Linked DNA regions of Homo sapiens: regions 1, 2, 3, 4, 5 and 6 are each linked to region 7. Evidence: promoter capture Hi-C in 16 types of primary human blood cells and fetal thymus (Javierre and others, 2016). All regions are on one chromosome and are shown on one strand. The core of a region is centred on a gene start or on the middle of the fragment in contact, and the rest is flanking DNA. Distances in the headings are between cores, read along the strand shown.

Region 1 (3,720 bases), core at 707-3,206, 230 kb before region 7:
CCTTCACACGGCTGTTTTCTTCCTGTCAGCTTCTGGCGAGCACAAGGCCCCGCCCTTGGTACACTGAACTGTTTAAGTTAAATGGAATGAAGTTATTAAAAAGCAGAAAACACAGCTTGGGTTCTGCTACACTTTCCTTTTCTTATTCCTCTTCAACCCAAGGTTTTTTCTGTAAGATACAAGATTGTAAGGCAACTGGAACTGGGAAATGTCTCATTTGTTGGCCTCAGAAATGTCGCGGCTTTCACATGGGGGAGGAGGAGTGTCAAAAAAACTTCACTTCCCACGAAGAGAAGATTCCAGCTCAGAATCTCATGGCTCTTCCCAGAGGCTCGGCAGCTCTGCTGCCAACCAGTCTAAAGCCCCACACTCCCAATCCTGGGGTAATTCAGATGATTCTGAAAGTCCTCTGGAAGGTGGGAAAGAAGAGAAGCAAATATAGTGTCCAGACTAGGAAGCATCCAAACACCTATTGTGTGTCCTCGGGCGTGTCTTCCCCTCTATGGGCCTCTATCAAATGAACCAGATGAACGCTATGCATGCACGCACATGCGCACACACACATCACCAATTCTCTCCTCACCTTCATCTAATTACCCTGGATGCACTGTTAATCATTCACTCCCCAAATACCAAAGGCCCACTACCACCACCCAAACCTCCTTCCCAGCTGCGCCTCTCATTGCCAATAGATTTGCCTCGTGCTTAGAATAAATTGCCAATCATCTGCATAATGCTCCACAACTCCTCACTCCACACATCAAATCATTTCTCAATCTCATTTTGTAAAATCCATCAAGAATAATTCTTTCAAAACTGAAATAAACCCTCACTCTGGCACTTAGAGCCATAAATCCCTTGTCTTTGAATGTGAAATAGATCACTTTCTACAAAGCACATCTAAGATATCTTAATGTAATCAGATTCACTAACAATGATAAATCAACAGGATCCTGTGATACATAAAAATGCAAATCCAAACCACCCCAGAAATCATCTCTTCTCTGTATGTCCCTTAACAGAACCACAAAATTTGGAAGCTGGGATAGAGCTTGGACACCACCTGGGTGAAGGGGATGCGCTTTTCCATCCCTTATTCTCAGAGGCAGGAGGGCAGCGTGAGTGGTGGTAGCTCTTTCTGCTCAGGCTCTGAGTCTGAAGCTTCCCTGCTTGCCTCTATCATTTACTAGCTGTGTGACCACGGACAAGTCTCTTGACCTCTCTGTGCCTCAATTTCCTCATCTGTAAAATGGGAATGAGGACAGAAGTGGCCTCTCAGGCCTGTAATGAAGAGGAGACGGAGCGTTTAGAACATGCCTAGTACATGGTAAGCACTCAGCAATGGCTAGCGCTCTCCATCCTCTCATCCATGCTTTAAATGTGACCACTTTGGGGACAGGGAACCAGCTCTCCAACACAGACCTGCCAAGTGTTCAGTACATGAAAAGGGAGTGCATGAATGGCTTGGCACAGACAATCCTCAAACTCTTTAGATTCTAAAAGTATTTATCTCAAGAACACTGAGATTGAAACGCTTTAAAAACGTGTGCATAGAGACAATGAAAAGATTCACAAAAAACAAGAGTTACAGTAAGTTGGAGGATTCTGGGTGATTTGTCTTTTCTACACTTTGTTTTATAACTAATCAAGACAGGTACAGGGGAATCAGAAACATGCTTCCTCAGCCTCTCCCTTGTCAGGCACTAGGCTGGATCTTCTCATTTCAGCTCTACAGCAACAACCTTAATTGGTGGCCATTTACCAATTATCCCCATTTTACCAGTGAGGAACTAGGGGATCAGAGAGGCTAAGTGATTTTCCCAAAGTCACACAGCTACCAAGCAGAAGATTTGGCATGGGAGCCAAGGAGTACAACAGTGGTACTGAAGGTTTGCCAATCTAATCAGGTCCCACTCTCACCACACACAAGGGCTTTAGCTAATGCCTGGGTGTAAATCAAAGCCCATCTTTTTCTTTTTTTTTCTGAGATGGAGTCTCGCTCTTTCACCCAGGCTGGAGTGCAGTGGTGCGATCTGGGCTCACTGCAAGCTCCGCCTCCTGGGTTCATGCCATTCTCCTGCCTCAGCCTCCCGAGCAGCTGGGACTACAGCCGCCCACCACCGCGCCCGGCTAATTTTTTGTATTTTTAGTAGAGACGGGGTTTCACCATGTTAGCCAAGATGGTCTCAATCTCCTGACCTCGTGATCCGCCTGCCTCGGCCTCCCAAAGTGCTGGGATTACAGGCATGAGCCACCGCGCCTGGCCTCAAAGCCCATCTTAACTGCATTAAGGCAGCAAAAAAAGACAATATTTATGTATAGCCATATTCACTGTAATACTGATTATTTTTTAAACAAAAGCAGGAAATTATAGGAAACAACATGGAAATGATGGAGCAAAGTATGAAACTTGAGACAGTTATAAAAATATATTTGGGGAAAAGTTTTTAATAAGGTAGAAAAATTCCCCTTACACGTTACAGAAGATTGGGCAGCAGAGGAAGAATTCAAAACTGCACATACTATGCAATAAGCCCAATTATGTAAACAGATAGGAATGTAGGGCCCCCGACCAGGGAGGCCCCTCATGTTAATGAGGCACTGACTTGGGGTTGGGAGTTATCAATGATTTCTGTTTCTCCTTCATACTTCATATTTCCTGCATCATTAAAGTTTTTCACAATAAGCATCTATTACATTCATGGTCAAAAATTAAAAGGTTTTTTTTCAAAGTATTTTAAGGAAGCTTGTTACTGAAAGAATTTCTAGAGCAAATTATTCTGTAAAGCAAATAAACAACATCTAATTCATATATTTTCTTTAAAAACCTTCTGTGTTTCAGAACTGCAGGTTTTCATACAGGTACAGAAGGTCCCTGGTGGGTCTTCTGTCACCCACCCAAAGGTCTTATTCCTTTGGGACTCCCTCTCAGTGCCTGGCAGAGGGTTCTGTACATGGGAGCATTCAATAACGGCTGGTTGTGTTTTTGGTTAACGCAGGCCACGTACATGTTTTCCTTCAAAAAAAGGCATCAAAGTCTGAATTTCTACCTTTACGTGCAGTGGGTGTTCAAACACGTTAAGCCAAAAGAGTTCACTGGGAGATGAAAAGAGTATATAAAAGGGTATCCGTGCTGGGATCACAGCTATGAAAAAAACAAGCACGTTCACAGACAAGGGGAGGAAGGGATCGTCAGGAAAGAGCAGCGGTGCAGAATTATGAGTCATTGTTTTATTTTACTTAATTTCTCTAGCTGTAAATTTTTCAAAACTAATAAAAGCATATTTTACAGCTCACAGAACATTTAGAACATATTAAAATAAGTATCTTTCCACTGTAATGTGTCCAGTTGAAATGTATGAATTCCGAAGCTACGTTTTAAGGATATGAAGGAACTGGCACTCCATGTTCTTTAGATTAATAAGTTGGACTGTGTTGTTTTTCTCCTGATCAGAAAGAAATCATTTTTCAGTAAATGTTACCTTGAATCAAGGATTCTTCCACATTCTAGAAGCTTGGATGAGCTGCTTATATTAAGTCTTACTGTGCACCCTAGTGGCGAATATGATTTATCCACTCAAAAGACAATCCCTTCCCAAAGGCTTGCGATAAAATCCAAAAAATTTGTTTTAATTTTTATCGATCACTTAACATGTACACAATTTTGTGCCAGATGCTGGGGAATATAAAAATGGGTTCTGGCTCAGGAAGCTTAAAGTC
Region 2 (3,973 bases), core at 1-2,500, 200 kb before region 7:
CTAAAATCTTTTGGTTGTGCATTATATTCCCAAAGGATTATTTTAAAATAAAATAACAATATAAAATATATTTCAAAATAATGATCTATAGTAGACAGCTTAATAGAAGGTTTTCCCTTTTTTTGAGCACTTCAGAACTTGGGAAAGGTCTATTGAAATGGCCATTTATAACATTTAGTGGCTACAAGTCAATCATAGATTACTTAGGTTTCACCTCCAGTGATACTGACTATGGACCTAGAAGGCTGGAAGTCAGCTTAAGAGCAGTGACTTCTCACATCGGGCAAGTTCTTACTGTCATGCCCTTCCTTGAGGGCCTTCCTGCTCAGGAAAGACTGTTGCCATTCCATTGAAGTCTTTACTCTGAGATCATTGCTAATTATCAGAGAAGAAACAGAACTGAAATGTTTTCATCTAAGTCAAAGCCATTTTCCATGATTTCAGTATAGACTATCAATGAGGGAAAATTCACTTGAAGACCGACATTAATTCAGTTCAACAAATAAAGAATGTGAGAAATCATGGTTGTCAATGAATATAAATTTTACCTTAATAAACAAATATATATATATATACCTATTTATATATGTATATGTTTATATTTTGTTGTCAAAAGTTGCTAGCTGGACTGCATTCTGAATATGTTTCCCATCAGAACCCAGTCTCAGGCAAAACAGCATTTTGTGTTGTAATTTATTTCCTGTTTTGTTGGTTGTGTTGATCTCAGCTGTTGTTTTAATCCAAAGACCTTTTACTTCATGTTGGGGGTAAGGACCTTTAGCAGAAGGCCTAAAGAGGTTTGTGTTCATTAAGATTGTGCATGGATCACTCACTTTTCATCTTCATTTCAGTAATATCTGATCACTAAACCTCCTGCCACCTAAGAAAGTCATCTTTTCTTTTTTTCCAGTTCGGTTTGGAAGTAGTAAAATTGACAAAGAGCTAATAAACCGAATAGAGAGAGCCACCGGCCAAAGACCACACCACTTCCTGCGCAGAGGCATCTTCTTCTCACACAGGTCAGGGGCTCTTCACCACAGGCCTTCTCACCTGTCCTCTTCTTTTAGTTCAAAAAAATCGTAAGACACTCTCTTCATAAGCCACCTGGTACTGTGGGAAAAGTGATGGCCAGCTGTGGTAAGACTGAGATCCATCCTCTGTCCTGTCAGTAACCCACTGTGGGATCATGCTTGTCCATCACCCTCAGGCTCTTAGTTTTTTCATTTGTAGACTGCCCACCTCACAAGGTGGGAATCATATTAATAGCAGGTGAGATTCTTCCCAGATTACAGGCTGTAAAGAAATTATAAAATGTCATGAAAACAAAAGAGAATAATATGTCCAAGATCAGCATTTCCCACATGACAAACAGTAGGCTTCCTGAAATTCCAAACCCTCTTCCTCCTATTGTATTGACTTGCTCATAAACAATACCAACAGACAAACCAACAGAGAATGCATGGAACAGATTATCTGTACCTTAGGCCGTAAATTCCACGCAGATAACGTCAAGATATGGGCAGGTTCCAAAAGAGTTTCTGCCTCTCCCAACCTACAGTTATCTGGGCTGAGGCAGCCCCCTTTTTGAAGCTGTGTCCATGGAATTTATGATCTGATGTAGGGTTGTTCTGTTCTACTGGCACTTCACGCTTACAGGAGAACAACCCCAGGACAGAGCCCAGCAGTCTGCCCAAACACTTCAAATTCTACCTGCAAAGAACTCCAGGCCTTGCTCAACCCACTTTCTGGGTGGAATATAATAAAAAATTTTCCTTAATTCACATACTATAAAACTTATTTTTTTAAATGTACAGTTAAGTGGGTTTTAGTATATTCACAAGGTTGTGAGACCATCAAGACTATCTAATTCCAAAACATTTCATCACCCCAAAAGGAAACTTCTACCCATTAACCCATTTATGCCAGAAGTTGTAAAAATTTTTTGTGAAAAATCAGACCTTGGCAATCACCTTGAGCAGTAAGATATCAATAACTCCCACAAGTTTAGCATTCCAATTTTGGAACAGTAGGTAGGCATAAATGGGTTAACAGTCATCCCCCATTTCTCCCTCCCCACTGGCAACCATTAGTCTGCTTTCTCTATATCTAGATTTAGGCATTTTATATAAATGGGATCATGTAACATGTGGCCTTTTGTGTCTGGCTTCTTTTACTTGGCATAACATTTTCAAGGTTCCTCCATGTTGTAGCATGTATCCATACTGGATTCCTTTTTATTGCCAAATAATATTCCATTGAATGGATATACCTCACATTTTGTTTATTCATTCATTAGTTGATGGACGTTTGAGTTATTTTCACTTTTTGGTTATCAACAATGCTGCTCTGACCATTTGTATACAAGTTTTTGGGTGGATATATGTTTTCAATTCTCTTGGGCATATACCTCGAAATAGAATTAATGGCTTATATAGTAATTCCATGTTTAACTCTTTGAGGAACTGACAGACTTTTCTACAGCAACTGTATCATTTTACTTTCCCACCAGCAACATAGGAAGCTTCCCATTTCTCCACATCTTCACCCACTCTTGTTATTTTCCATGTTGTTGTGTTTTATAGCCATCCTAATAGGTGTGAAGTAGTATTTCATTGTGGTTTTGATTGTATTTCCCTAATGACAAGGATGTTGAGAATCTTTTCATGTGCTTATTAACAATTTTTATATCTTTAGAGAAATGTCTATTCAGATCCTTTGCCTACTTTTTAATTGGGTTGTCTTTTTATTGTTAGTTATAATAGTTCTTTCTATATTCTGGATACTAGTTTCTTATTCAAATATTACTTGCAAATATTTGCTCCCATTATATAGGTTGTCTCTTCACTCTACTGATAGTCCTTTGAAGTATGAAAGTTTTTAATTTTGATGAAGTCCAGTTTATTTTATCTTTGATTGATTGTGTTTTTGGTGTCATATCTGAGAAACCACTGACTAATCGAAGGTTGTGAAGATTTACACCTATGGTTTCTTCTCAGAGTTTTGTGGTTTTAGCTCTTACATTTCAGTTTCTGATCCTTTTTGAGTTAATTTTTGTATATTTGTGAGGTACAGCTCCAACTTCATTCTTTTGCTTGTGGGTATCCAATTGTCCCAGCACTGTTTTTTGAAAAGACTATTCTTGGCTGGGCGCAGTGGCTCATGTCTGTAATCCCAGCACTTTGGGAGGCCAAGGCAGGCGGATCACGAGGTCAGGAGATTGAGACCATCCTGGCTAACACGGTGAAACCCCATCTCTACTAAAAATACAAAAAATTAGCCAGGTGTGGTGATGGGCGCCTGTAGTCCCAGCTACTCGGGAGGCTGAGGCAGGAGAATGGCATGAACCCGGGAGGCGGAGCTTGCAGTGAGCCGAGATCGCGCCACTGCACTCCAGCCTGGGTGGCAGTGAGACTCCGTCTCAAAAAAAAATAAGAAAATGTGAGTACTCAAACATGGTTCTTTTTCAAGATTGTTTAGGTATTCTGGGCCCCTTGCATTTCCATATGAATTTCAGCTTTTCCATTTCTGCAAAAGCAGCAGCTAGGATTTTGATAGGGATTGCACTGAATCTGTAGATTCATTTGTGGAGTATTGCCATCTTAAAATATTAATTCATCTAATCCATGAACATGGGATGTCTTTTCACTTCTTTGATTTCTTTCATTGATGTTTTGTAATTTTCAGTGTATAGGTTTTGCACTTCTTTGCTTAGATTTATTCATTAGAATTTTATCTTTTTAATGCTATTCTAAATGGCATTTTCTTAATCTCATTTTGATTGTTCATTGCTACTATATAGAAATACAACTGATGGCCGGGCACGGTGGCTTACACCTGTAATCCCAACACTTTGGGAGGCCGAGGCGGGTGGATCACTTGAGGTCAGGAGTTCGAGACCAGCCTGACCAACATGGTGAAACCACATCTCTACTAAAAATACAAAATTGGGCAGGCATGGTGGTGGGCGCCTGTA
Region 3 (4,076 bases), core at 1,191-3,690, 160 kb after region 7:
GCATTGTCAAATATAAAATGCTGTTTGGCTTTCTTTGGGCTGTATTTGTATAAATGTTATTGGTATGTGTTGCAAAATTATAGGAAACTCCTATAATTCTGGTATGACTTAGTGCCTATTAGCAGTAATAATTATAATTGTTATGTTAAATTATTGTGTGCCACAGAGACAATAAATTTCCTTGTCAGTTGTGTCTCTGAATATGGCTGCCATAAAAACTTTTTGTCATCTACAGACAATTGTTGTCTCCTTTTGGTCCTCTTTAGAAGGTGGTTTTAAAATCAGCTATAAAACTCTAACAGGTGCTCTTGAATGCAGGTTTCTGATAACTTTGGAGATTGTGACATCAGGATGACGAAAAACTTTCAGGACTCATGGAGAGCGAAATGTTCATGGATATCAAGCAGAACAGGAATTAACTGCATGGACTGAACTAATAGTGGACTGAAGTTATCTTTTTGACTTTTTGCTTAAAACGTTGCTGATCCTTTGTTTTTTAGAGTCAAGGAAACTTTTCTTTTGAGCTATTGACAGAAACTAGGTATACTCCTATGAACAAAATTTGGAGGATATTTGTTTCTCTCTACTTGATTCCTCCAGAATTTGGAAACTATCTGTGAGTATTCTTAATGTATGGCAATATAGTTATTTGCATAAGTACAATAAAAGTTTGTTTTCATTTGTAACAGGCGAAACTGGTTATTTTACCAAGGCTTTGACTAGAATGGTATGCTTTCCTTTAAGGAATCAAACTTAACTTACAGAGCCAATAAAATCCCCTTGGGAAAACTAGCCTCATACCTTGTCTACACAGTCCCTGTACAGGGTTCCTGACCTGTGGTAAGTAAAGAATGTCACTTTCTGACAGGCCCAGGAGCCCCAGGTTATCATGGGACTTCAAGAGGAAGAAAAATTCACCTGACTCATAGTTATTTGATGGTACAAATCCACGGCTGGGCTTGTCTTTTAAAAAGCCTTATCTGAGACTCCTTCAATGGAACAAAGTTCCACCAAAGCCAATTTTAAAAGCCTATGTGAGAAATAATTACTCTCGCTGCACTTTATACAAATAATCTGTCCAAGTATAATAAAGCAAATCAGTCCTACCATGATTTGTCTTTAGTAAAAACGGGAAACTGGAGAGAGAGACGAATTCTATTTCAAAAACTATAACACACCTGTTGCTAGATTCTAGTCCTAATGTTTTCCAGTTTTTATTATTTTCTATAGTTTGGGCTGAATTCTAATTTTTCCTGGCTATAAGTTTCCAAAATAATGTTTTCAATTTTTTCTTTCTTTTCCTTTTCCTTCCGTTTTTTCCTAATTTGAAATCACTGAAAACTAAGCTGTGCTTCTTAAAGCCTTGCAAACTTAATCCAGACAACTAAACTTCAGAAGAAAATAACAGCAACCTATTTACATACATAAGCCACTTTCATACCTGCCTACTGATACATGGACTTCAGAGTAACGTGGCCTCTATCAATTTTCCAGGATTGTTGTTTTGTTTGTTGTTGTTTTTCTCCCTTCCTCCCCCTATTTTCTCTTCATAGGACATGAGACTTCTCAACCTGCTAAAATAATATTCCTAATATTATTCTATTAATATAATTCCTAATAACTCAGGACCTACCTGTCTAGGAATAAACCATCCTAGCCATGAGAGATCAGACAAAACCTGAGACCAGAGACTCATTTTCTTCTAAAATGCTTTCTCCAAAAATGCTTTCTCCAAGAGATTTTTAAAAAGAAAAGGGGGTAAATGTGAAAGAAAAATAAATCTTGGGGCCCCAAATTCACTAAGCAAAAGGGAAAAGTCAAACTGGGAACTGCTTAGGGTAAACCTGCCTACCATTCTATTCAAAGTCATCCCTCAGCTCACTGAGATAAATGCATACCTGATCGCCTCCTTTGGAAAGGCTCATCAGAAATGCAAAAGAATGCAACAGCTCATGCTTGTAATCCCAGCACTTTGGGAGGCCGAGGTGGGCGGATCACGAGGTCAGGAGATCGGGACCATTCTGGCTAAAACGGTGAAACCCCGTCTTTACTAAAAATACAAGAAATGAGCCGGGCATGATGGCACGCGCTTGTAGTCCCAGCTGCTCGGGAGGCTGAGGCAGGAGAATCGTTTGAACCCAGGAGGCGGAAGTTGCAGTGAGCAGAGATCGCGCCACTGCACTCCAGCCTGGGTGACAGAGCGAGACTCCGTCTCAAAAAAAAAAAAAAAAAAAAAAAAAGAATGCAACAGTTTGTCTCTTATCTACCTATGACCTGGAAGCTCCATCCTTGCTTGAGTTGTCCTGCCTTTCTGGACAAAATCAATGTACATCTTACATTTATTGACTGATGTCTCATGTCTCCCTAAAATGTATAAAACCAAGTTGTGCCCTGACCACCTTGGGCACACGTTGTCAGGACCTCCTGAGGGTGTGTGATGGACACGTGTCCTCAACCTTGGCAAAACAAACTTTCTAAATTAACTGAGACCTATCTCAGATATTCGGGGTTCACACTTCCTATTCCATTCCAATACTGGTGGACTAGCTGTAGATCAATGTTTCTGGTGAAATAACCAAAAATGCCAGGTAACACAGTTAAGCAAGCAAACAAAAAGCACTTCTAAAGGCTTCAAATGGCTGTGAAGACAGTAAAGAATTACTAGGCAAAAACTAAAGAGAAAAACAGGGGTTCCCCAAAAGACAAATGAGCACAGAGCCCCTTTTGCCCTGAGGGCATCTGTTGATCCCAGAAAACACAAACTTTTGTGCTGATGGCCTCACAGGGGAAGAGAGTGACCCCCCACCACAGTATGCCCTCTTCATAGTAAGCTCCAGGGGTCCACAGACATCTCTCTGCAGAAGCAATCCATGGCGCCTCAAAGGAAGAATTCCTACCACCACCCATAAATAAAGGCTGACATGTTTTATTTTAATTTTTTAAAAAGTGTTAGAGACAGGGTCTTGTGTTGCTCAGGCTGGTCTCTAATTCCTGGCCTCAGGTGATCCTCCTGCCTCAGCCTTCTGAATAGCTGTGATTATAGACAGGAGCCACCACATTTAGCTAAAAGTTAAAGTGCTGTTTATTGAGTACTTATTATGTCCCAGGCACTGCTCTACATTCTTTATATGTGTCAGCGGATTTAATCCTGAGGGAATGGCAAAGAGATCTTGTTATTTTTCCCATTTGATAAATGAGGAACCTGAGGGACAGAGAGGTAAAGTAATTTGCTCATGATCACATAGTTCAAAAGTGGCAGAGCTGATCACACTCAAATTCAGGCTGCCTGACTCCAGAATCTGTACTCTTAATCACTACAGAATAAGTTAAAACCAAAAGGGCACAAATATATTTATTCCTATGTGACTTCAAATAGCAAAAAACTAAATATCCATTGGCAAGGGACTGGTCAAATAATGTATGGTAGACACAACAGAGTACCAGTCACTAGAAATATAGCCCTTCACTAACTGCATGAACATTACTACTGTTGAATAAAAACATTATAGAAAATTATTATAAATTTATAAATTACTATAATTTATAAATTATAAAGTATAATAAACATTTCCACAAATCAAATAAAAAAGCAAATATAAAAGTATAGACAGTATATTCTCACTTATGCACCATCATAATATTATACACCACATAGTGTAATAGCATGGTCTTGAGATTCAGAGACCATTACTGGACCTTGGACAATTTACTTCATTATTCTAAACACCAATTTCCTCCTGAGCAAAATGGGGCAACATTATGTATCTTGGAGGGTTTTTTGTGAGAATCAAATGATATAATGCATATAAAGTTGCTCATCCTAGAACCATACATAAACGCTAGTAAACACAGTTATTCCATTATTATTATGCTTTTATCTGTATATATGTTTGTATAAAAAAAATTTGGAATCATGTTAGCCAAAATGCTAACTACTACTAATTTCCAAGGCATGTCAGATGATTTATTCTTTATTTTTGTACTTTTCTGTATTGCAAAATTTGTAGAATGAGCAAGTATGATTTTTACAAAACTAGTAACTTTTATAGATGCAGACATGTATATATATGTGTGTG
Region 4 (4,112 bases), core at 763-3,262, 190 kb after region 7:
CCTAGAGAGGCCTAAGGGTCCCCCTGGAGCCCGTGCCCCTTCCCAGGAGCCCTGAGGCCACTGGGAAGGGAAGCCCCATCCAGCTCACACCTAGGAAAGCCAAAATCTCTCCTCACTCCCAGCTAGTCATCGGGTCCCAGCTTGGGGGCCCGTTCACCATCAGCTTTGGGGAAGAAACTTCCCGCTCACTTCTCCTGCCTGCTGTCTCGCAATTACCGTGGGGACTGTGGCAGCCAGGCCTTTGTGGGAGCCGCCGGCACTTCATTCGCAAGGAGGCCGGGAGGCCCGGGCATCCGAATGCGAGCAGACGTGTCAGGGGTCGGGGTGTTGGGAAGTTTAAAGGCTGCAGCCTCCCCACCCAGGGAGGCACGGTCTTCCCGCCAGGCTGCGCAGTCAGAATGTGGCATGTCTAAAGGAGGGAATCGTAGAGAAGTGATGAGGAGAGTCAAGAAGATCTTGCCTAAGAGCAATTGGAAAACAAACAAAAAAATCTTGAGAATAGAAAATACATTATTTCAAAATTAAGAAATTAATTAGAGGCAGTGAAAAACAAAAGACACTCCTGCAGAACAAGGGTCAGTACACTTTCTGCAAAGGACCAGCTGGTAAATAGTTTTGGCTTTTTCAAAGCCATGTGGTCTGTCACAACTGTGGCAGGCCAATTCTCCCTGACAATCACACAGACGGGCCTGTATGACAGTCGACAGACAGGCCTGCACAGCACCCCAGTTACACAGATTTCCACAGCGCTGCCTTAACACTGAGCAAATAGTTAAACCTAGGGCAATCGGTGCCCAGACATCAAAGCTACAAATAAAGCATACGGTCAGTAGAAGCCTTGCATGGGCTTCTCCCTAACCTGGAGCAAGTCAAAATAATAGAATCTAACATTCCTAGTGCCAGGACCTGCCTCGGGTCGACAAAATCTGAGACGAGTCAAGGTAACAGAGGCAGCTGTTTGAATAGATTCATCAGAGAGTCTAAGGCAGCACTCCAGACCAAGCTGTAAAGGAGATAAGATAGAAATAATCACTCTGGTACCACAGGAGACAGGCCTTGAAGGTACTGGGGCCCACACAGCTTAATCAGACTTAGCTTGTTTTTTTTTTTTTATGTTCCAAATGTGATGGGTTTATTTTATTTTACTCTGATGCAAAATCAAAGATTCCACAATAGCACAGAGACCAATATATTACAGAGTCATGAAAAAAATGGTGTGAACATGCAGGACACGAGGTACAAACTGGAGGTTCAGATCGTCTCCTCTAACATGACACCACACTGTCGCCGAGGAACACATTTAATAACACTGCAGAACTGAACCGAAACGTGGCACAAACAGGACAGCTTCCAGGCATGCTTTCCAGCGCCTCCCCTCAGGAGGGACTCACAACCCCTAGACTTCAGTGTGGGGAGGATTACAATTTTTTGGAAGAGTAAAAAGTTCACACTTTTGAAATTTCACAGAAGGATTGTAGGGCCAAAACATGGTGGGTTCATTTCTCTTCACTTCCAGGGACAAATCTGATGCTTTCCTCAAACCACATTAAGCTTGCAGTTCAAACGCCAAGCCAACCTTGTGACCTCCTGCACTGAAGTTGTTTCCATCGATTAAAGCTGATAAAGGGTCAATTTGACTCCGGGTCGAAGGGTCTGAGTATAACCCAGTCCAATCAGGCTGGCATTATTTACTTTAGCAGAGAGAGAAGTTCTACAATCCAGCTTGTACTTAGTAGCAATGCCAAAATGGGTGTTGTTACTCCAGCCGTCCAAGCAAGGTTTATTGACATTTCAATCCCATTAACCTTCTGGTAGATAGAACCTCCAAATTCAGTGCCATCGGTCACATGTGTGTGCAGCTGGAAGTCTGCAGCCTCGTAACCCAGGGCGAAATTATTCTGTGACAATTTGGATTTGGCTGTGTCAAAACTCATCTGATAGCCGGCAAGCCACCCTTCAAAGACCAACACAGCCCAGCCATAGATGGTTGGTCCGGAAAAATCTAGATCAACATTACTGCCAACACTAAAACAATCCCATTTATAGGAGGCCTTCAATTCCCCACTCTTCTTTCCTGTGTTTGGTACCAATATGGTATCAAGACTCAGTTTCAACCCTTTAGCCAACTTATTCTCCAAAGAGATTTCTGTCCCAAGAGTATTGTCTGTGTTCCGTTTTTGAGTGAAGGTAAGTCCATAGTTACAGACCTTACATTCGGGTTCTAGGTTGCCTGATGCTTTCCCTGTATCAGTGTAAGCATGACCAGAAGTAGAAAATTCCACTGCACTACAGGACTTGGTTTTCAGGTCTATCTTCCCCATGCCAAAGCCATATCCTTTGTTGAAGACATCCTCAGCAGCCTTTCCCAGGTCACAGTAAGTTGGTGTGTTACACATATCTTAGAAAAATCTTTCTCAGGTTCTTATGAAATCAAAGACCTCCACCCCCAAGGGCCTGTCTCCCACAAGCTTTTTTTTGCCTCTGACCTTCTAGTTGAAACAAAATTAGTTACCAATAGACTTAGGCGAATGTTGTGCTGCACGTAGGCACATAACTCCAACCTGTATAAGCAATTCTAACACTTTGAGTTGGTCTGGTGGAATTATCTCTGGCCTTCTGCCTGTATCCGGTTACAGCAATAAATTCCCTTTTTTTTTTTTTTTTTGGGACGGAGTCTCACTCTGTCGCCCAGGCTGGAGTGCAGTGGTGCAATCTCTGCTCGCTGCAACTCCGCCTCCAGAGTTCACGCCATTCTCCTGCCTCAGCCTCCCAAGTAGCTGGGACTACAGGCACCCGCCACCACGCTAGGCTAATTTTTTTTTTTTTTTTTTTTTTTTTTTTTGTATTTTTAGTAGAGACGTGGTTTCACCATGTTAGCCAGGATGGTCTCGATCTCCTGACCTGGTGATCCGCCCGCCTCGGCCTCCCAAAGTGCTGGGATTACAGGCATGAGCCACCGCACCTGGCCAATTCCCTTCTTCGCTAGTTTGTCTGCTTCTCATTATTGGGACTCAAGAAGAGGCAGCTGGACCTGACTTGCTTCCGGGAACACAACTACTTCCCTTGGCCTTTGACTTGAAGACAGCCATAGACCATATGTGAGTGGATGTCACTGTGTTCCAAGAGAACTTTAGTGACAAAAACAGGTAAAACCATTTTTATTTTCAGATGACATTATCTTACCTATAGAAATTCCTAAGGAACCCACTCAAAAACTATCAGAACTAATAAACAAGTTCTGCAAGGTCCAAGCATATAAGATAAACATATAAACATCAATTGTATTTCGATAGACTTGCTATGAAGAATCTGAAAATGAAGTTAAGAAAACAATTCTATTTACATGACATCAAAACAATAAAATACTTATGAATGAATTTAACAAAAAAAGTGTAAGACTTGTACACTGAAAACTATGAAACGACTCCGAAAGAAATTAAAGAAAACCTATAAACGGAAAGATATCCATTTATGGGTTGAAAGAGCTAATATTATTAAAATGGCAAGAGAGCCCAAATTGACCTACAGATTCGATGCAATTCCTGTCAAAATCCCAGCTGCTTCCACTTTTATTTTGTGCAGAAATTAGAAAGCTGATCCTAAAATTCATCTGGAAATGCAAGGGACCATAGAATAGCCAGAAGAGTCTTGAAAAAGAATAAGTACAGGTATATACATTGATGGAATAAAATAGACAGTCCAGGCAGGGAGTGGTGGCTCACACCTGTAATCCCAGCACTTTGGGAGGCTGAGGCAGGTGGATCACCTGAGGTCAGGAGTTCGAGACCAGCCTGGCCAACATGGTGAAACCCCATCTCTACCAAAAATACAAAAAATTAGCCGGGTGTGGTGGCATGCGCCTGTAGTCCCAGCTATTCGGGAGACTGAGGGCGGGAGAATCGCTTGAACCCAGGAGGCGGAGGTTGCAGTGAGTCAAGATCACGCCACTGCACTCTAGCCTGGGCCACAGAGCAAGACTCCATCTCAAAGAAAAAAAAATAGGATAGAGAGTTGAGAAATAAACCCTTAACTTTACAGTCAATTGATTATCAACAGGGGCGCCAAGTTAAAGAACAGGCTTTAATAAATGGTGTTGAAACAACTAGATACCC
Region 5 (3,840 bases), core at 1,228-3,727, 240 kb after region 7:
TTTATAATGGTTCATTATTGTATGTAAATTACTCCTCAATAAAGCTGTTAAAAAGAGTCCTCATCTTTTTGGGATATATACAATTATTAACAGATGAAATGATGAGATGTCTGGGAACTGCTTCAGAATATGGGAGGCGGGTGGTGGGTGGGGCTCCAGACGCAGGAAACTGGCTGAGAGCTGATCATCATTGAAGCTGGCGGATGAGTACATGGGGTTCATTATTCCATTCTGTTTAATTTTGTCTATGTTTGAAATTTTCCATAACACAAGCACAGTGACCCAAAGGAGGGAAAAGAACCCTAAATGCCATAATTATGTGCATGTCTAATTTAAATTTTACTCTGAGGAGGCTTGTGAAATTTTTTCTTTAAAGACACTGACACAGAATCTCAATTCTGTTGGGATTTTAAAGTAGTGAATACAATAGCAAAGACACAGAATCAACCCAAATGCCCATCAATAGTAGACTGGATGAAGAAAATGTGGTATATATACACCATGGAATAATATGCAGCCATAAAAAGGAACAAGACCATGTCCTTTGTGGGGATATGGATGGAGCTGGAAGCTGTTATCCTCAGCATACCAATGTAGGAACAGAAAACCAAATACCGCATGGGCTCACTTATAAGTGGGAGCTGAATGATGAGAACACATGGACACACTGGGCGGGGAACAAGACACACTGGGGCCTGTTGGAGGGGGGCGAGGGGGAGGGAGAGCATCAGGAACAACAGCTAATGGGTGCTGGGCTTAATACGTGGGTGATGGGTTGATCTGTGCGTTAAACCACCATGGCACACGTTTACCTATGTAACAAACCGACACATCCTGCACATGGACTCCAGAACTTAAAATAAAAGTTGATTAAAAAAATAAAGTAGTGAATGGTTTGGAGTCTAACCTGGTGAGTATCGCATTACAGAGAGCTGTTCGTTTCCATCTGTGTGAACGGTGACCAAGTCTTTTGTTTCTGTGTCAAACACAAACCACCTGTTATCAACATGAGAAAAAGCACAGTAAGTTGTTTAATAAGAAAATGAAGATTATATAATAGTGGGATGAATAAAAATTGTTAATCATAAAAGCTTAATAAATACTCAGAATTTGCTTAATAAGAAAGCTTGTTCCCAGCTTTCATTCAAAGAAAATTTCCTATATATAAGCATTTTCTAATGAAAGGAACAGCATATTGGCTAGCATTCAAAACTATGCCATTATCAACACTATGACATGGTTTCTCTGTGTTTGTGCTTTGTCATTTACACATGGAGAGAAAGCTCTGGGCAGGGAAGATGCCAATACCTAGTGCCAGGGCATATGGTGAGAGGAAGCAGTGAAGGACCACCTGCAAGAGCTCACCCAGGTTTCCAGGGCGAAGCAGGACCATGCAGGAGGATGGGGCTGGGACAACTCCGGGGTGGTGGTGTTCCCAATGGTGCTGCAGACAGAGCAGGCCAAGAGTACAGGCCTTATGGGGATGCTAGCCTGCAACCAACAGGGCGAGGGAAAGCACAGAGCAAATGGGAGAAATTGGAGTGGAGGACTGGTCTTCTAATTTCACCTCGCTGGGCCATTTCCTCAGTGGTGAGATGGGGAGAAGAGCCCAGGTCTACTCTGCAGGCTCAATATTAAAGTCGAATGATAATGGACATGGAAGTGCTTTGTATCCTCTGATAAGCACACAGTACCCACTAAATGAGTGTTAACATCAGAATGACTGAACTCTCCTGCCTGTTATATTCTCAAGGGGTGGTGGTGAGCCCCTGGTGTTTTCAGGATAAATGGATAAATGGATAAGGATAAATGGATAAACTGTTGCTGCAGTTTCTAACCTGCCTGAGGACATCCCATCAGCATGTCCACTGACGCAGAGTGAGTGTCCCTTGTCTTCCACAGGAGCCCCCCTAGCCAGGCACTGTCAGATGTCCTGCCCCCCAGAAATGTGGATTTTGCTTTTCAGTGCCAATTTCTTGCATCTTCAACAACCATTTACCTTTAATGTGCTATTTAACCTTAATAAAGGCTGGGGCTGATTAGAACATGGCTTTGAAGTGACCTGTTAAATCAACAGCATCGGGAGCTAAGCCTAACCTAGGACCTGAATGGCAAGAGGTACAGATGAGGGGCTGGATTAGGTGACCCGATCCATCTCCTCCACCATGGGACACTGTGATTCTGAGCACTGTCACCGTGTCCTACACACACAGTAGGCATGCTGGCATCCGTCAGCCTATTGGGAGGCCAGTCATCAGAAGGTGGGAGCCTGATGAGTTAGAAGGTTTACCTGTCTCAAAGAGAGTCAAATGGGAGGTGGAGTGTGTGTGTGTGTGTGTGTGTGTGTGTGTGTGTGTGTCTGTGTGCATGCGTATGTGTGTGTGTGGCTATACAAACGTTTTCATGAAGAATTCTGTTGGCTACATGGAGCCCAATACTTAAGATATTGCTACCTATGACCTGCAAAGGGCTACACTTTCTTTATCCATATAGGCTCTGCAGTCATAGCAACAGAATTTAAGTGCTACGCTTTTTTAGAGAGGAAGGGTGGGAGGAAAAATATTTGACTGAAACCACAGTAAATGTATACAGTACAATGAGCAGCATAAATGTTCAATCAAAACCTGGAAAGCAATGATAATAATAACCCCTGCAGTGCCTGATGGGCAGCCCTGGCAGGTGCTGTGTGCACTGTCTCCTTCGATCCTCAGTGCAACACAGCCAGGCAGGGAATATCACAATTTACAGAAAAAGAAACAAATTCAGAGAGCTTATGTAACCGGCTCAAAGACACTGCTGCTAAGTGGCAAAGCTGAGCTGCAAACGCAGACCCACCATCCGGTGTGTAGGAGGTGCCAGGTGAATAGGTATTAACTCAATTGGAATATGAGGCTCAGGGTCTGGGCAGTTCCTGAAATTTTGAAAGGGCAGCTAGAAAAAGCATTTATTTTCTATTTTTAATTTTTTTTAGAGATGGGGTCTCGCTGTGTGGCTTAGGCGAGGGTACAGTGGTGCAATCATAGTGCGATGCAGCCTCGAACTCCTGATCTTAAGAGATCCCCCTGCCTTAGCCTCCTGAGTAGCTAATACAGATGTGGACCACCATATCCAGCTCAATTTTAAATTTTTTATAGAGATAGGGTCTTGCTGTGTTGCCCAGGCTGGTCTCGAACTCCTAGCCTCAAACGATCTTCCTGCCTAGGCCTCTCAAAGGGTTGGGATTACAAGTGTGAGCCACTGTGACCAGGAGTAGAAAAAGCATTTTTAAATGCTCAGCACTTTGAAATGTTTTCTTGCTTCATTCCAAAATCAAGGCTTCTCCCACAGCCTCAAGATCAGGGCTTGAGAAGCTCCACAAATCCTCGAGATTGTAGGCAAAATGTGTGTGTGGCTGGGTGTGGTGCCTCATGCCTGTGATCTCAGCACTTTGGGAGACCGAGGTGGGAGGACTGCTTGAGCTAGAGCTCAAGACCAGCCTGGGCAACACAGTGAGACCTGCGTCTCTACAAAAGATAAAATATTAGTTGAGCATGGCAGTGCATGCCTGTAGTCCCAGCTACTTGGGAGGCTGAGGTGGGAGGATCACTTAAGCCCTGGAGGCTGCAGTAAGCTGTGATTGTGCCACTGCACTTCAGTCTGGGTGACAAGGAGAGACCTGTCTCAAAAAACAAACAAAAAAAGTGTGTGTGTGTCTAGTGGAGGTAGAGGGTCCTTTTCCAGGAGAGAGGGTCTATGGCTTTCCTCAGATTCCCCAAGGCTCAAAATGTAATGGGCCACTGTTTCAAGTTTCGCTTTTAACTTAATTCTTGGTAAGTCATTAGAAGCTTCGAACATGTAGCC
Region 6 (3,861 bases), core at 703-3,202, 150 kb before region 7:
GTATATTCCATCTACTGAGATAGGGGAAAACCGCCTTAGGGCTGGAGGTGGGACATGCGGGCAGCAATACTGCTCTGTAAGGCATTGAGCTGTTTATGTGTATACATATCTAAAGCACAGCACTTAATTCTTTACTTTGTTCATGATGCAGAGACCTTTGTTCACGTGTTCACCTGCTGACCTTCTCTCCACTATTATCCTATGACCCTGACACATCCCCCTCTCCGAGAAACACCCAATAATGATCAATAAATACTAAGGGAACTCAGAGGCTGGCGGGATTCTCCGTATGCTGAACGCCGGTCCCTGGGCCCCCTTTTTTCTTTCTCTATACTTTGTCTCTGTGTCTCTTTCTTTTCCAAGTCTCTCGTTCCACCTAACGAGAAACACCCATAGGTGTGGAGGGGCAACCCACCCCTTCAAGTTGGATCTTCCTGAATCTATCCTTAGAGATGGTCTCAACCCACAGTTTCACAGCCACCTTAGAACCACTAAAGAGCCTGGTTTAAACGCAGCTTTTGTCTCTACCTGCTCCCTGGGGCTGACTTCTTAGGTCTGGGGCAGGGCCTCAAAATCTGCCTTCCTAGCTGTTTGCCAAGGTGGCGGCAACTCAGCCCCACAGGGACCCACTGGCCAATTCCAACCCCAGAGGTCTAGAGAGGGAAAACCTGTGGCCAAGGCCACACAGCAGGACAGAGCAGAGTCTGGGTCCTCTCACCAGGCTGGGCTCCAAGGCTGCCTGCTCGCCCCTTGCTCAGGTTGGGAGGAGGCAAAGCTGGTGGGGCACAGCGTGGCGACCTGCCCCCTGTGGTTCCAGCTATTCAAGAGGCTGAGGTGGGAGGATGGCTTGAGCCCAGGAGGTTGAGGCAGCAGTGAGCTGTGACTGCACCACTGTACTCTGGCTGGGCAACAGAGCGAGACCCTGTCTCTCTCTCTCTCTCTCACACACACACACACACACACACACACACACACACACACACACACGGCACCAATCCCATTCCCTCATAACCTAATCACCTCCCAAAGGCCCTGCTTCTAACACCATCACCTCCGGGGTTAAGACTTCAGCATATGAGGAACAAAACACACTGGGGCCTACCTAAGGGTGGAGGGGAGGAGAGAGAGGATCAGTGGGCATTAGGCTTAATACCTAGGTGACAAAATAATCTGCACAACACACCCCCATGACATGGGTTTACCTATACGACAACCCTGCACATGTACCCCTCAACTTAAAAGTTAAAAAAAAGGACTTCAACATATGAACTTTGGGGGGACACACACATTCAGACCATGGCAGGTCAGCCAAGCCCCTTCTGAAGAGGTAAGCATTGAGCAGGAACCCAAATCCTGTTTGTTTATTTATTTATTTATTTTGAGACAGAGTCTCCCTCTGTTGCCAGGCTGGAGGGCAGTGGCGTGATCTCGGCTCACTGCAACCTCTGACTCCCAGGTTCAAGCAATTCTCCTGCCTCAGCCTCCCAATTAGCTGGGATTACAGGCATGCACCACCACGCCCAGCTGATTTTTGTATTTTTTTTTTTTTTGAGATGGAGTCTTACTCTTGTCACCCAGGCTGGAGTGCAGTGGCAAGATCTCGGCTCACTGCAACCTCCGCCACCTGAGTTCAAGCGATTCTCCTGCCTCAGCCTCCCGAGTCGGTGGGATTACAGGTGCCTGCCACCGCGCCTAATTTTTTTGTATTTTTAGCAGAGACGGGGTTTCAGCATCTTGGCCAGGCTGGTCTTGAACTCCTGACCTCATGATCCACCCGCCTCGGCCTCCCAAAGTGCTGGGATTACAGGCGTGAGCCACCACGCCCAGCCAGAACCCAAGTTCTAGAGGTAACGACGCCAGGCCAGGCAGAAGCTTCCAACATGGCAAAACCCCATCTCTACTAAAAATACAGAAAATTGGCCAGGCATGGTGTCGGGTGCCTGTAATCCCAGGCTACTAGGCCCCTTCCCAAGGACCCCAGGGACTCAGAGGAGCTGCCAGTGCCAAGGCCCTGAGAGGGGCACAAGCTTAGAGGGTGGGCTCCAATAAGAGGGCCAGAGGGCATGAAAGGTGGGAGGTGAGGTTGTAGTCTGGTTACCCTGGGCCTCACACCATGGCACTGAGCTCGAGTATTCCAATATGAGACAGGAGGCGACTGACAGCGCGCCGGCCCCACCAATCTTTGGCCAGGAGTTTGCAACCTGCTCAGGTGGCTCCCATCCCGAGTCTACACCTGTGCTTGCTGCCAGAGCCCTTCTGTGCACTCTCCCCTGCACAGCCTAACTCCTGGGAAGGTCTACACAGCTGGTGCCTCATCCTCTCCCCCTCAACTTGCCCTCTGGCAGCCTGAGTTGCAGCCACCCCCCCCAAGTCCTGGCCCAAACAGCTCCTGCAGGGGGTCATTCAGCTCCAAGATTCCAGGGTGGGGACAGAGACTTGCGTTTCCTTTTTACTTTCTGGCGTTTCTGATTTCTCCACACTGAACCTGTCTTGTGTGAGAATAAAAGCTGTACACAGGGAAAACTCCAACACACCCTTTCCAGTGAGCTGGCTTGACCCTCGGTGCCCCGTGACAGTCCCTCCGGCCTTGCTGTCCTGTGCTGGCCTTGGGTCTGCCCTGCCCCTTAAAAGGCTGGGGTCCTCAGGGCTGCACAGAGCCCTGCCTCCTCTGGGATGGGAGGTCCAGGGCTCTGTGGAACATGGGAGTTTGAGAAAGCACATTCTGTGCTGTAACCTTATCCTCAGGAAATGAAATAAAACAATAGACACTGAACCCAAGTGTCCAAGATGTAGGCATACGGATTCATTTACTTGGCACCAACTTTTTCACTCCTCCTTTCTGGTCTCTCCTCAGCCCTGACATGGAGGTCAGGGATTTGTGTCTGTCTTGTCCCCAACACAGGGCACAGGGCAGTGCGCCGACTGAGTGCATGATTCCCAGGCAGCAGGGAAACAGGGTGCTCAGGAAGATGTGGTTTTGCAAAGTTTAGTAACCCAGCAGCACACCCGTGTGGACGCATCCCTTTCCAGTGCCTGTCCTCACCCCCTCCCCAATGTCCCCCACCCAGTGTCAACTGTGCAGGCCCTGGGCACACCAAGATGAAGGGGACAGACCTGGGACCTGCCCTCAGGGTACTTCCAGCTGAAGGCAGCCCCCTGTCACCCACAAGGGAGCTGAGGCTCCCTTGGCGGGTCAGGTCAGGCAAATCTGTCCCAGAGCCCAGTCCTCCACTGTCCCCCACATGTTGACCTTAGTCCCCAAATCCAACAGCCCTCCCCCGACCACACACACACACCCAGAACCCTGCCCTCTCCTTGCAAAGTGCACAGCTAAGGGCCCGCACTCCTCATCTCCCAGGCCTGGCACGATCCCACTGCTGCCCTCACACGGCCTGCCTCAGCTCTCTCAACAAAGGACCCTCCCTGCAAGGAGGTTTTTCTTTTTGAAATAGGGTCTTGCTCTGTCATCCAGGCTGGTGCACAATGGTTCGATCATAGCTCACTGCAGCCTTGACCTCCTGGGCTCAAGCGACCCTCCTGCCTCGGCCTCCTGAGTAGCTAGGACTACAGGCCTGCAGGCATGCGCCACCACATCCTGCCGATTTTTTTTTTTTTTAGAGATGGGGCCTCACTATGTTGCCCAGGCTGGCCTCAAACTCCTGGCTTCAAGCGATCCTCCTGCCTCAGCCTCCCAAAGTGCCTGGATTACAGGCATGAGCCACTGAACCCAGCCTCAAGGAGGTTTCTGAAGCTCAACTATGGAATACCTACTGTTTACCAGGCTACTAGGCCCCTTCCCAAGGACCCCAGGGACTGACAGCTCAGTGCAACCTGCCCCAAGCATAATTTTCAAGGCATGTG
Region 7 (4,194 bases), core at 876-3,375:
AACAGCTTTATATTTACAGAAAAACTGTGATGATAGTTTAGAAAGTTCACATATATGCCACACCCAGTTTCCTTTATTTTAATATCTTATAATATGGTGCATTTGTTGCCTTTGATGGACCAATATTGATACACTATGATTAACTATGGTCCAGCTTTACTAGGCTTTCCTTAGCTTTACCTAATGTCCTTTTTCTGCTCCAGGATCCCATTCAAGACACCACATTACAAACGAAAATGTATTTTCTGTCATTTCTGGGACAACGGACAGGGTGGGGACGCAACAGTATGTGCTCCTGGCTCGTCAACACCGTGAAGCTGGGTTTCTGGCTCCCCAGGGACTTGGGGAGCACTTGGCAAGGGCATCAGACTTGATTTCATGCATCCTGGGTGTCTGTTCCACTCCCAGGTCTTCTTCAGCATGTCCTCTGACTTGTCCCCTCTCTGGCCTCAGTTTCCTCATCTGGAAAATGAGGGCCTTGGTGAGTTTCCTCTGGATAGGCGGTGGCCTGGGGCAGAGGGAACTGGCAGGCTTGGTGTTGTCCTGAGGGTGGAGCTGGGGCTCAGGGCGGCAGATCTCACGGAGTTCAACACAGGGGCGAAGGCTCTGATTTTGGAAGCTTTTTAATTCAAAGGTCAGGGGCCAAAGTCATGCCCCAGCCTTGCTGTTAATTCCTCTGTGCCTCAGGCAAGGCGCTCCTCATCTCTGGGCCTCAGTCTCCTGATCTGTAAAGTGATGGCTGGTGGGATGACTTCTGAGGACCCTTCTGGCTGGGAACAGAGCAGGCTGCCCTGGGAGCAATGAGTCTTCTCCCAAGGGTGCAAGCTGGGCCGGGAGGCCTCCTGGGTGTGGCAAGGGGTGATGGCCATGGTGGCATGTGGGTCCCCCTGCTGATGGAAAATCTGGCCTCTGTGTCCACCTTTCCCATGGCTAATTCAGGGGATGGTGGCTGGCGGCTGCAGGACACCCATGCCTTCCTTCCTGGCTCACTCAGGACTGCCTTTGGCCCTGAGCTAAGGAAGGCCTGCCAAGTGTACCAAACCCCGGGCCATGGACTTCCATGGGACGCACAGAAGCACGCCCTCACTATGTGCGAGCCTGTGGCAGCGCTGGCTGATGTGTCAGTCAGCTCCCAGGCAACTGCCAGCCGAGGCCAGGCTCTGGCCCACAGGCACAGCAGGTCCACCCTCCAAAACTCCAAGGGAGTGGGAGAAGGAACAGAGGCATCACTGAGAGGGTGAAGATGAGGGGCCCTGTGCCCTTACCTCCCCAAAACTAGACTTTCCATTTGAGAACATTCAGGTTCTGCCTTGTTTCCAAGCGTTTGCATCTGCTGTTCCCCCTAGCACCAATGCCTTTCCCTTTTCTAGCTGTTGAACTCCTACCCACCCCTCAAGGCCCAATGCAAAAGTTCCTTCTATTGGATCCTAGCTGCTTCAGGGCCTACCTGTGTCATGGCACGTATCACCCTGAATCATAACAGCCACTTCTGTACCTGTGTCCCCATCCAGAACTCAAGTTCCCTGAAGGCAGGAGTGGGTCTGACTCATCCCTGTGAGGTTGCTGCAGACGCATTATCTCCCCTTTGCATTATTGGTGAAAGGGCCGGGTGGAGGAAGGGAGGATTGCTGCACCAACCTTTCCTCGGCGCCTGTTTACTGGCACCGTCGCATCCATTCCACGCCGATCCTCCGCAGTCCCCCTATCCTGCCAGCCGCTCCTCCTTGGGGCAGGGGCGGCGCGAGCCACAGGGGCGTGCCCGCGAGCGGGTCGGGGCTGCGGAGAGAACGGGCCGGGGTAAAAACCCGACGGCTGCCCGCGGGTGGGCGGGGCGCGCAGAGCCGGTGGGAGGCCGCGGTGGCAGCAGTCGCCCCCGCGCATCGAGGGACCCAGGGACTCGCGCAGATGGCACGCGGCCACCTCGGTCCTGCCGGGGAGCCCCATTTCCAACCGAGGCAACTGAGGTTCCCAAAGCGCCAGCTACCCGCCGGGGTCTGGAGAGCGCCGGGGCCCGGCCGCCCCGCCCAGCCAGAGGTGCCCCGCCCCAAGCCTGGCGCACCTGGCCCCGCCCCGCCGGGACCCCGCCCCCGCCCTAATCAGAGCTGGTTCCGCGCCGCGGCCGCCGCGACAGGTGCAGCAGAGCCGAGCCGGCCGCGCTCCGAACGGCGCCTCCCGCCCCACCATGGGCAACAGCGCGAGCCGCAGCGACTTCGAGTGGGTCTACACCGACCAGCCGCACACGCAGCGGCGCAAGGAGATACTGGGTGAGCGCCGCGCGGGGCCCACCCCGGTGGGGACCGCCCCGTTGGCCCGTCTGGAGTCGCGTCGTGGGGTCGAGCCCAGACGGGCCGCTCCAGCTCTGGCCCAAATTCCAGTGGGCGTTCCGCCATTGCCGCTCCCCTCCCTGGGGTCCCCGGCCGGCTCCCCGAGGGTCCCCCACCCTGGCCGGGTCTGAAACTCCCTGGGACCTGAGGATTCCGAGGACCCCAGTACGGGTCCGAGCGCCAGGGAGCGCGTCCCAGCTGTTCCTCGCGAGCCACTCCCGGGGCCAGGGCCGGGGCTCTGGGATGCTGGGACGCGAGGGCGCAGGGGCGGCCCCGGGACGCGCTACGAGGCGCACGCGCTCCCTGGCGCGGAGGCAGCTTGCGCGACGCGGGGCCTCCACCCGCAGTCACTGGGCGCCTGCTGCGCTCAGAGCCCCTGGGTCTCGCGGCCACGGGCGCCCCAGGCTGGAGTTCAGGGCGGATGAGCGCCGGGAAGGGAGCAAACGCGAATGAGAGGCGCGCGTGTTTTCTTTGAAAAAAGCAAAGATTGTACTAAAGAATCCTTCTATTCTGGCATGTCGCTTATTACGTGGTGGCTGTTTTCCTTGTTGCTTCGTGTCCTCTGCGAGGAGGGCATCTTTACCCACTCGGAGTCACTCTCGTTCATGCCAGAGGCCCCATCCCACCCACAAGCAAGGTGGCCCCGGTGAGTCGTCCTTGGCCCGGGCTTACGGGGTTAAAGGGCCTGCGTCTGGAGAGTGGCTTTTGCCAGATGCCACCAAATCGCCACAGGCTGAGACAGGCCCGCCCCTCCCGCCCTGCCTAAGTCAGCACCGCGCGTTGCCACACTTTGTAATCTTCAGTCAGATTGGGGAAACAATACCATTTCACTGTGGCTTTAATTTGCACTTATTTGATGGAGGTTTCACATTTTAATCGGGCGTTTTATTTAATTTAATTAATTTATTTATTTAGAGACAGAGTCTCGCGATCTCGGCTCACTGCGACCCCCGCCTCCCAGGTTCAAGCGATTCTCCTGCCTCAGCCTTCTGAGTAGCTGGGATTACAGGCACCTGCCACCACACCCGGCTAATTTTTGTATTTGTAGTGAGATGGAGTTTCACCATGTTGGCTAGGCGCGATCTTAGCTCACTGCAACCTCTCCCCACTGGGCTCAACTGATCCTCCTACCTCAGCCTCCTGAGTAGTTGAGACTGCAGGTGTGTACCACTATGCCCGGCTATTTTTTTTGTATTTTTACTAGAAACAGGGTCTTGCCATGTTGCCCAGGCTGGTCTCAAACTTCCGAGCTCGAGGGATCCACCCATCTCAGCCTCCCAAAGTGTTGGGACTACAGGCATGGGCCATGAGCCACCACGCCTGGCCTGAACAACTTTTTTTTTTTTTTTTTTTTTTTTTGAGAGGAAGTCTTGCTCTGTCGCCCAGACCGGAGTGCAGTGATGCGATCTCCACTCACCGCAACCTCCGCCTCCCAGGTTCAAGCGATTCTCCTGCCTCAGCCTTCTGAGTAGCTGGGATTACAGGCACCCGCCACCACACCCGGCTAATTTTGTATTTGTAGTAGAGATGGGGTTTCACCATGTTGGCTAGGCTGGTCTCAAACTCCTGACCTCAGGTGATTCACCCGCCTCTGCCTCCCAAACTGTTGGGATTACAGGTGTGAGCCACTGCGCCCAGCCAACTTTTTCTTTCTTCCTCTTTTTTTAATCCCATGGCAGCATACTGAGATACCATGACTTTTAAATGTTTGAAACCCAAGATACATTGGGTGGCTAGCCTGTGACTGCATCCCGGGGTAACTGGGGCCTCAGGAGCTGGAAGCCTCTATGTGGGTTTGTGACTGCTGTGGTTTCTCCTGGGAGGTGAGCTGCAGCCCAGCATCGTCTGGTCCCAGCAGTGGTAGCTGCCT

Evidence for each region. The method cuts DNA at HindIII sites, captures the fragments that hold promoters and counts their contacts. A CHiCAGO score of 5 or more calls a contact.
Region 1: a fragment that was not itself captured here is called in contact with the fragment with the promoter of DEGS2 in region 7 in 1 of 17 cell types (total B cells); the score reaches 5.3 in total B cells.
Region 2: a contact is called between a fragment that was not itself captured here and the fragment with the promoter of DEGS2 in region 7, in 1 of 17 cell types (total B cells). The highest score is 5.4, in total B cells.
Region 3: a contact is called between a fragment that was not itself captured here and the fragment with the promoter of DEGS2 in region 7, in 9 of 17 cell types (total CD8 T cells, total B cells, activated CD4 T cells and 6 more). The highest score is 7.2, in total CD8 T cells.
Region 4: a fragment that was not itself captured here is called in contact with the fragment with the promoter of DEGS2 in region 7 in 1 of 17 cell types (fetal thymus); the score reaches 5.5 in fetal thymus.
Region 5: a fragment that was not itself captured here is called in contact with the fragment with the promoter of DEGS2 in region 7 in 1 of 17 cell types (endothelial precursors); the score reaches 5.2 in endothelial precursors.
Region 6: a fragment that was not itself captured here is called in contact with the fragment with the promoter of DEGS2 in region 7 in 1 of 17 cell types (total B cells); the score reaches 5.1 in total B cells.

Annotation. Positions count from the first base shown.
Region 1 is chr14:100,385,158-100,388,877 of GRCh38, reverse strand. The region is part of intron 2 of WDR25 (WD repeat domain 25); the gene reads right to left. Among named protein-coding and RNA genes, the nearest start is that of WDR25, 11 kb to the right of the region's middle. The HindIII fragment of the contact is 1,585 bases long and covers 1,164-2,748 here.
Region 2 is chr14:100,357,600-100,361,572 of GRCh38, reverse strand. WARS1 (tryptophanyl-tRNA synthetase 1) reads left to right here. Exons shown (of 11, transcript NM_004184.4): 4 at 911-1,019. Among named protein-coding and RNA genes, the nearest start is that of WARS1, 16 kb to the left of the region's middle. The HindIII fragment of the contact is 2,546 bases long and covers 1-2,523 here.
Region 3 is chr14:99,998,505-100,002,580 of GRCh38, reverse strand. It overlaps a transcript of EVL not described here. Among named protein-coding and RNA genes, the nearest start is that of EVL, 65 kb to the left of the region's middle. The HindIII fragment of the contact is 5,752 bases long and covers 1-4,076 here.
Region 4 is chr14:99,962,813-99,966,924 of GRCh38, reverse strand. It overlaps the pseudogene VDAC3P1. Among named protein-coding and RNA genes, the nearest start is that of EVL, 100 kb to the left of the region's middle. The HindIII fragment of the contact is 917 bases long and covers 1,554-2,470 here.
Region 5 is chr14:99,917,945-99,921,784 of GRCh38, reverse strand. EML1 (EMAP like 1) reads right to left here. Exons shown (of 22, transcript NM_004434.3): 17 at 908-996. Among named protein-coding and RNA genes, the nearest start is that of EML1, 130 kb to the right of the region's middle. The HindIII fragment of the contact is 2,698 bases long and covers 1,129-3,826 here.
Region 6 is chr14:100,308,352-100,312,212 of GRCh38, reverse strand. No RefSeq gene overlaps it. Among named protein-coding and RNA genes, the nearest start is that of MIR345, 2.4 kb to the right of the region's middle. The HindIII fragment of the contact is 155 bases long and covers 1,875-2,029 here.
Region 7 is chr14:100,157,576-100,161,769 of GRCh38, reverse strand. DEGS2 (delta 4-desaturase, sphingolipid 2) reads left to right here and starts at 2,125. Exons shown (of 3, transcript NM_206918.3): 1 at 2,125-2,264. The coding sequence starts at 2,183. It overlaps LOC124903380 (a long non-coding RNA gene), which reads right to left and starts at 1,733. Exons shown (of 2, transcript XR_007064330.1): 1 at 1,639-1,733; 2 at 56-462. RefSeq lists silencers at 1,779-2,178, 2,279-2,338. The HindIII fragment of the contact is 5,862 bases long and covers 622-4,194 here.